Regions from separate parts of the Homo sapiens genome. Here region 1 is linked to region 2. Evidence: promoter capture Hi-C in 16 types of primary human blood cells and fetal thymus (Javierre and others, 2016). All regions are on one chromosome and are shown on one strand. The core of a region is centred on a gene start or on the middle of the fragment in contact, and the rest is flanking DNA. Distances in the headings are between cores, read along the strand shown.

Region 1 (3,215 bases), core at 519-3,018, 620 kb before region 2:
TCTAGCCTGGGCAACTCAAACTCTGCCTCGAAAAAAAAAAAATTATTATTCCACCAGAAGGAAAGAAGCATATTCTTAAACACTGGACCTTAATATCCAGTGGATTTTCCTATCTAGTTTCTTCTGAATGCTGCTCTGTTTGAGAATTTGTAATGAGGAGCTTGGAAATCTGCTCAGCAGATTTTCACAACCATATCATTGATTCATTCATTGAGAGTAAACAAAAGTGTTACATGAGAAATCTGAGGAAGACAGGCTGGGTACGCTGGCTTACGATGCAATCCCAGCACTTTGGAGACTGAGGTGGGAGGATCGTTTGAATCCAGGAGTTTGAGACTAGCCTGTGCAACATAGGGAGACCCCATTTCTCTTTTTTTTTTTTTTGAGACGGAGTCTTGCTCTGGGGAGACCCCATTTCTACAAAATAAAAAAAATTAGCTGGGCATGGTGGCATGCACCTGTAGACCTAGCAACTTGGGAGGCTGAGGTGGAAAGATCAGTTGAGCCTGGGAGGTGGAGGCTGCAGTGAGAATGAGCCACGATTGTGCCACTGCACTGCAGCCTGGGCAACAGAGGGAGAGCTCATCTCAAATAAATAAATAAATAAATAGGAAAGAAAGGGAAAGGGGAGGGGAGGGGAGGGGAGGGGAGGGAAGGGAAGGGGAGGGGAGGGAAGAGGGCAGCCGGATGCGGTGGCTCACGCTTGTAATTCCAGCACTTTGGGAGGCTGAGGCAGGCGGATCACCTGAAGTCAGGAGTTTGAGACCAGCCTGGCCATTATGGTGAAACCCCATCTCTACTAAAAATACAAAAATTAGCCACGCGTTGTGGTGGGTGCCTGTAATTGCAGCTACTCAGGAGGCTGAGGGAGGAGAATCGCTTGAACCCGGGAAGCGGAGGCTGCGGTGAGCCGAGATCATGCCACTGCACTCCCGTCTGGGCGACAGAGTAAGGCTCTGTCTTAAAAAAAAAAAAAAAAAAAAAAAAGGAAAGGAAGAAAGAAAAAGAAATCAGAGGAAGACATTCAAACACTTCTGGTCCTTAAAATGGGAGAGCCAACTGCCACTGGAGCGCCCTCTGGGGATCGAATTTTTAAAAATTTTACATCTTCAGGACAAACAATAAACTCTATGAATCCAACGTATTCAACTTATAATTCAATAAGTGCTTAATAAGCAGTTACTATGTGTCAGGCACAATGTTCAACACTGGGGACACAAAGATAAATGAAATCAAGTTTCTGATTTATATATGCTTAAAGTCAATTATCATCCAAAACTTTTTCTAAGTGCAGTAAGTAGGATGGCCAGGCAAAGTAAGAGTTACCCACACAGGCCCTGGAGGAAGTTGACACAGATGATAAAATGCTTCTTGGGTGAGGCCAGGCGCAAAGGCTCATGCCTGTAATCTCAGTACTTTAGGAAGCTGAGGCAGGTGGATCACCTGAGGTCAGAAGTTCGAGACCAGCCTGGCCAACATGGCATTCATGGTGGCATGTGTCTGTAGTCCCAGCTACTTGGGAGGCTGAGGCAGGAGAATCTCTTGAACCCAGGAGGCGGAGGTTGCAGTGAGCTGAGGTCACACCACTGTACTTCAGCCTGGGCAACAGAGTGAGACCCTCTCTCAAAAAAAAAAAAAAAAGTTTTCTGGGTGCTACAGAAAGCAATTTGGCATGGTTATAAGCTTTAGTCATAATTTGTTTATGTAAGCAAAATGTTCACAATCTTTAAAAGAGAGGTTTAAATATTTCTTCCAACTAATGCATGTAAAATGGTGGTTATTTTCAAATATAAATTTAGGTTACATTGACATAATTTCATTTGGGCCAAAACAACAAATATAAATAAAGCTTAATTTTAAAAATTCAAGAATGACACAGTATTCCCATCATGATTTTATAACTAAATTATTGCACAATAATTCCATTCTGGAAACTTAACTCTAAGTATCACACTGATTTAGAAAATAGCTCATTTTCAAAAACAAATTCAGTATTAGAGGATACAGATTTACAAACAATTAGAAAATAAAACAAATTCTCCAAGTCTGGGTATTTGGTAAAAAAAAAAGAAAAGAAGAAAAAGAAAGAACAGGAAGGAGGGAGGGAGGGAAGGAGAGAGGGAGGGAGGGAAGGAGAGAGGGAGGGAGGGAAGGAGAGAGGGAGGGAGGGAGGGAAGGAAGGAAGGAAGGAGAAAAGCAAACAAAACTGAAAAACATCAGTACAAATAAATGTGCAAAATCAATCCCAAAACCTCCCTCCAATCTTTCCTTCCCAGTACAGAACACTCTCAGAAGACACTGTATCAGATTTGCCTTTACCTTCTCTAGGTCTCCAGGAGCAATTTGCAGAGCAGAATTCACCTCCAGAGAAAAAATACCAGCTTCCCTCTAACAATACCCACTTCACTAATTTCAGTGCCTTAGAGAGCAAGATATCCCTAAGGGTTTTTGGTTTTCTCTTTTTCTTCTCTTCCTGTCAACTGAAGATTCTGTAGCTAGGACTCAAATATGTACTTCTGGCAGCCTGAGTTGGAAATCAACATACTAAAGTAACAATTTCAGGTGCCCTGTGAGCTGCATTAGCTTCAGCCAGATTAATTGGAGAATTTACCGTGGATTTATGTAATTTTTTTCCTACAGGAAAAAAACCTCCAAAACTTACATTATTTTGGAATTTAGTTTATAATTGCCTGTATAAAAAAATATTGAGTCAAAATAAAGAGATTCACAAAGGAAAAAAACAACATACCGCTGACTTCACTAACAATAGATATTCCAGGCCGGGCACAGTGGCTCACACCTGTAATCCCAGCACTTTGGGAGGCCAAGGTGGGTGGATCACGAGGTCAGGAGTTCGAGACCAGCCTGGCCAACATAGTGAAACCCCGTCTCTACTAAAAATACAAAAATTAGCCGGGCATGGTGGCGCGCACCTGTAGTCCAAGCTACTCGGGAGGCTGAGGCAGAGAATCGCTTGAATCCAGAAGATGGAGGCTGCAGCGAGCCAAGATTGCCCCACTGCACACCAGCCTGGCCGACAGCGTGACACTTCGTCTCAAAAAAAAAAAAAAAATAGATATTCCAGTGTCTGTCTAGCCAGCTAGGGAATAGCAATTGCTAAATTATAAACTATTTGGAATTAGTTGATTGACAGCTTAATAAAGTTTATGGCAACTAGACTCAAGAGAATACTTTTCATTAAAGAAGATAACAGT
Region 2 (3,266 bases), core at 530-3,029:
CTCTCAATGGGTATACCAAACAGCCTCCATTTGAATATTGAATTGGCTTGTCAAACTTGTCCCAAACTTGCTCTACCCCATCTCAATAAATAACAATTCCTTGCTTCCAGTGTTTCCACCGCCAAACCCTCTCTTCTCTTCACACCTTTCATCTAATCTATCAGCAAAAATTGTCAGCTCTGTCTTCAAGAAACATCCAGAATGCTCTCCATCTCTGCTACTGCCTCTCTAATCTATCAGCATCATCTCTAGCTGGACTGTAACAAACTGCTCTCCTGTGTTCCTCACTCTCCCCCCACTTTTTTCTACAAAGTAGCCAGAGTAATTTTTTCCTTTATTTTATTTTATTTTATTTATTTATTTATTTATTTATTTATTTATTTATTTATTTATTTATTTATTTTTGAGACGGAGTCTCGCTCTGTTGCCAGACTGAAGTGCAGTGGTGCAATCTCGGCTTGTTGCAACCTCCGCCTCCCGGTTTCAAGCCATTCTCTTGCCTCAGCCTCCCAAGTAGCTGGGATTACAAGCGCGCACCACCACGCCCAGGTAATTTTTGTATTTTTAATAGAGACAAGGTTTCACCATATTGGCCAGGATGGTCTCCATCTCCTGACCTTGTGATCCGCCCACCTCAGCCTCCCAAAATGCTGGGATTACAGGCGTGAGCCATCGCGCTGGCCCAGAGTGAATTTTTTTTTTTTTTTTTTTTTTTACGGAAAAGCCAGAGTATGCTACCTCTCAGCTTAAAGCCCCCAGTGCTTTCCCAAAGTCCTTTCAGTGATCCATAAGGCCCTAAAGCCCTGGCCTCTGATGCTTCTCTGACCTCATTTCCTATCACTCTGCTCCTTGCTCTTCTGGTCCAGCCACAACAGGTCTTCCTGGTCACTCCTTCCTGCAGCCACTGCACAGCTCATTCCCTCACCTCTCCTCCGATAAGCTGACTAAATGTTCCCTTTTCACAGAGGCACTCCCCATCACCTGACCGTGTTTCAATTTTCATCATAACACTTATCACCTCCTGACATTTAATATGTTTGCCTATTGTTGCTCTCCTCCCTCTAGAGTATAAATAAACTGCAGGAATAGATTGGCAGATAAGATACACGATGCTCAGTTAAACTTGCATTTCACATACACAATGAATAATTTTTTAGTGTGAGGATGTCCCAGATGTTGCATGGGATGTCTTAATGCTAAAAAATTGTTTGCTGTTTCTCTGAAATTCAAACTTTACTGGGTGTCCTACATTTTTATTTGCTAAATCTGGCAACACTATACAGGAAGACAAGGACCCTGGTTATTTTGTTCATGGCTGTATCCCCAGCGCTAGAACAGCTCCTGACACGTAGTAAGTAAGCTCTCAATAAATATTTATTGACTGAATGAATGTGTTAATTAATCTGAAACGCGCCTAAACTTTTAACAGCCTGTGTGAGAGTCAGAGAGGCGGAGCCTTCAGACTTGGTTAGTCCAGGGGGCGTGGGCGGCTGATGAACTTTCGAAGTAGGTCGAGCAGCCGGGCGCTTTGCCTGCCCCGCCCGCGCTCCGCAGGATGCAGGACTCCACCCGGCTCAGGTTCGCAGCAGGTCCCGGAAGCCCTCCTGGGGGCGGGGCCACCCTAATCGGCAGGTGGGACCCAGCCCCAGCCGGGGCAGGGCCCCTTTAACGCCCCACCTCTCCGCCACGACTTTCGCCCCGGCGTGACGTCACCCCAGCGGGCGACCAATGGGAGTGCGGCTTACTGGCAGGCGGCGCAGGCGGCCGCTGCCAAAGGGGAAGTGATCTGGGGCTGGAGCGATGGCCCGGGGCTGGAGCTCGCGGCCGCCGCCGCCGCAGCCGCCGCCACCAACGCCAACAACAACGTGTCGGGAGCAGCCGCGGCCGAAGCCGGAGCAGGGGCCGGAGTCGCGGCTGGAGTGGGGCCTGCGCGTGTGAGTGGCCGAGAGTTGCCCGTGCCGGAGACCTCAAACTCCGGGCGGGAGCGCTTTCGGTCGGCCGAGCCGCCGTCGCCCGCGGCACCGTGTCCCCAAGGCCCAGACAGCGGGGCGGGGGTCTATCAGGCGCGGGACTGGCTTCTCTCAGGCCGACCCTTCTAGCCGGGCTCCGGATCTTCCTCGGCCTCGGGCCCCCTTCACGTTCAGGACGGAGGCCGGAGAACGGTGATCATCACACACCCCAGCCGGCTTCCTGGCCAGGGCATTTTCTCTGCGGCCAAGCAGTGTTGGGATTGTAGCTGCTGGGAGCCCCCTCCTGCCGCCACCTCTCCTGCAAGGAAGGGACTGACGCGTTCCCACTTTCTTACTCTGCACCTCCCCACTCTCTTCCCATTCAAGAACGAGTTTCTCTTCCCTCTCCATTGGAAATCTTGCTCCGGAGGTCCGAAACACGTATTTTAAGCGTGCCCTTCCTCACCTCCTGGAGCACCCTTAGAAGTATTGCCTACTTATCCGGGCTGAGAATCCTTCATTTTTGACCTGGCTTTTTTTTCGCCCTTTGGGAGATAAAGGTCCCTCTCCACCCTCTACTAACACTCTGCACCCAAGGCCTTATCCTTTGGGGTCACCAGCTCCTTGGCCATTTCTATGTGATTTCCCCCACCCATCTGAGTTCCAGTTTCCTCTGGGCTCCAATCTCCAGTCCCTGGCGGATCTGGTCAGTCCCACCCCTAGGTGGGAGTGACCAGGGGGCTCTGGCCCAGGATTCCCAACCCTGGAAGGCAGCTCCAAGGCAGGAAGAGAATTGGGCATCGGGTACGAACCTGGCAGCTCAGGAGTCGGGGCTCCACTCACCCCACACAAAAAGATGAAAAAGCGCAAAGAGCTCAATGCATTGATTGGTTTGGCTGGGGACAGCCGGAGAAAGAAGCCCAAGAAAGGCCCAAGCAGTCACCGCCTGCTTCGCACTGAGCCTCCCGACTCAGACTCTGAGTCCAGCTCCGAAGAGGAAGAGGAATTCGGTGTGGTTGGAAATCGCTCTCGCTTTGCCAAGTGAGTAGTGGTGAAAGGTGGAATGGGAAGAAGGCATCTCCTTGCACTACCAAGGGGCCACATTGACAGGAAGGAGAAAGGAAGTCCTTAGGAAGAAAAAAGGGTGTAGGCCTTGGAAGTCAAAGAGGGAAAAACGGTTTTAGGGAGAAGGTAAGTTCAGATCCTGAATGAAGAATAAGTTAGAGATCTGTCTTTAGGTGTAGAAAGAAAAGCTCCAAATCTGAGGTGGAAATGTGGACTTGGAGAATGTGCCAAGAGCCCAGGGAGTCCTAAAGA

What was found. The method cuts DNA at HindIII sites, captures the fragments that hold promoters and counts their contacts. A CHiCAGO score of 5 or more calls a contact.
Region 1: a contact is called between a fragment that was not itself captured here and the fragment with the promoter of EFCAB14 in region 2, in 1 of 17 cell types (erythroblasts). The highest score is 6.2, in erythroblasts.

The regions. Positions count from the first base shown.
Region 1 is chr1:47,337,474-47,340,688 of GRCh38, reverse strand. All of the region lies in intron 1 of CMPK1 (cytidine/uridine monophosphate kinase 1), which reads right to left. Among named protein-coding and RNA genes, the nearest start is that of CMPK1, 5.3 kb to the right of the region's middle. The HindIII fragment of the contact is 166 bases long and covers 1,686-1,851 here.
Region 2 is chr1:46,717,627-46,720,892 of GRCh38, reverse strand. It overlaps EFCAB14 (EF-hand calcium binding domain 14), which reads left to right and starts at 1,779. Exons shown (of 11, transcript NM_014774.3): 1 at 1,779-2,990. The coding sequence starts at 2,806. RefSeq lists silencers at 1,555-1,604, 1,925-1,974. The HindIII fragment of the contact is 11,051 bases long and covers 1-3,266 here.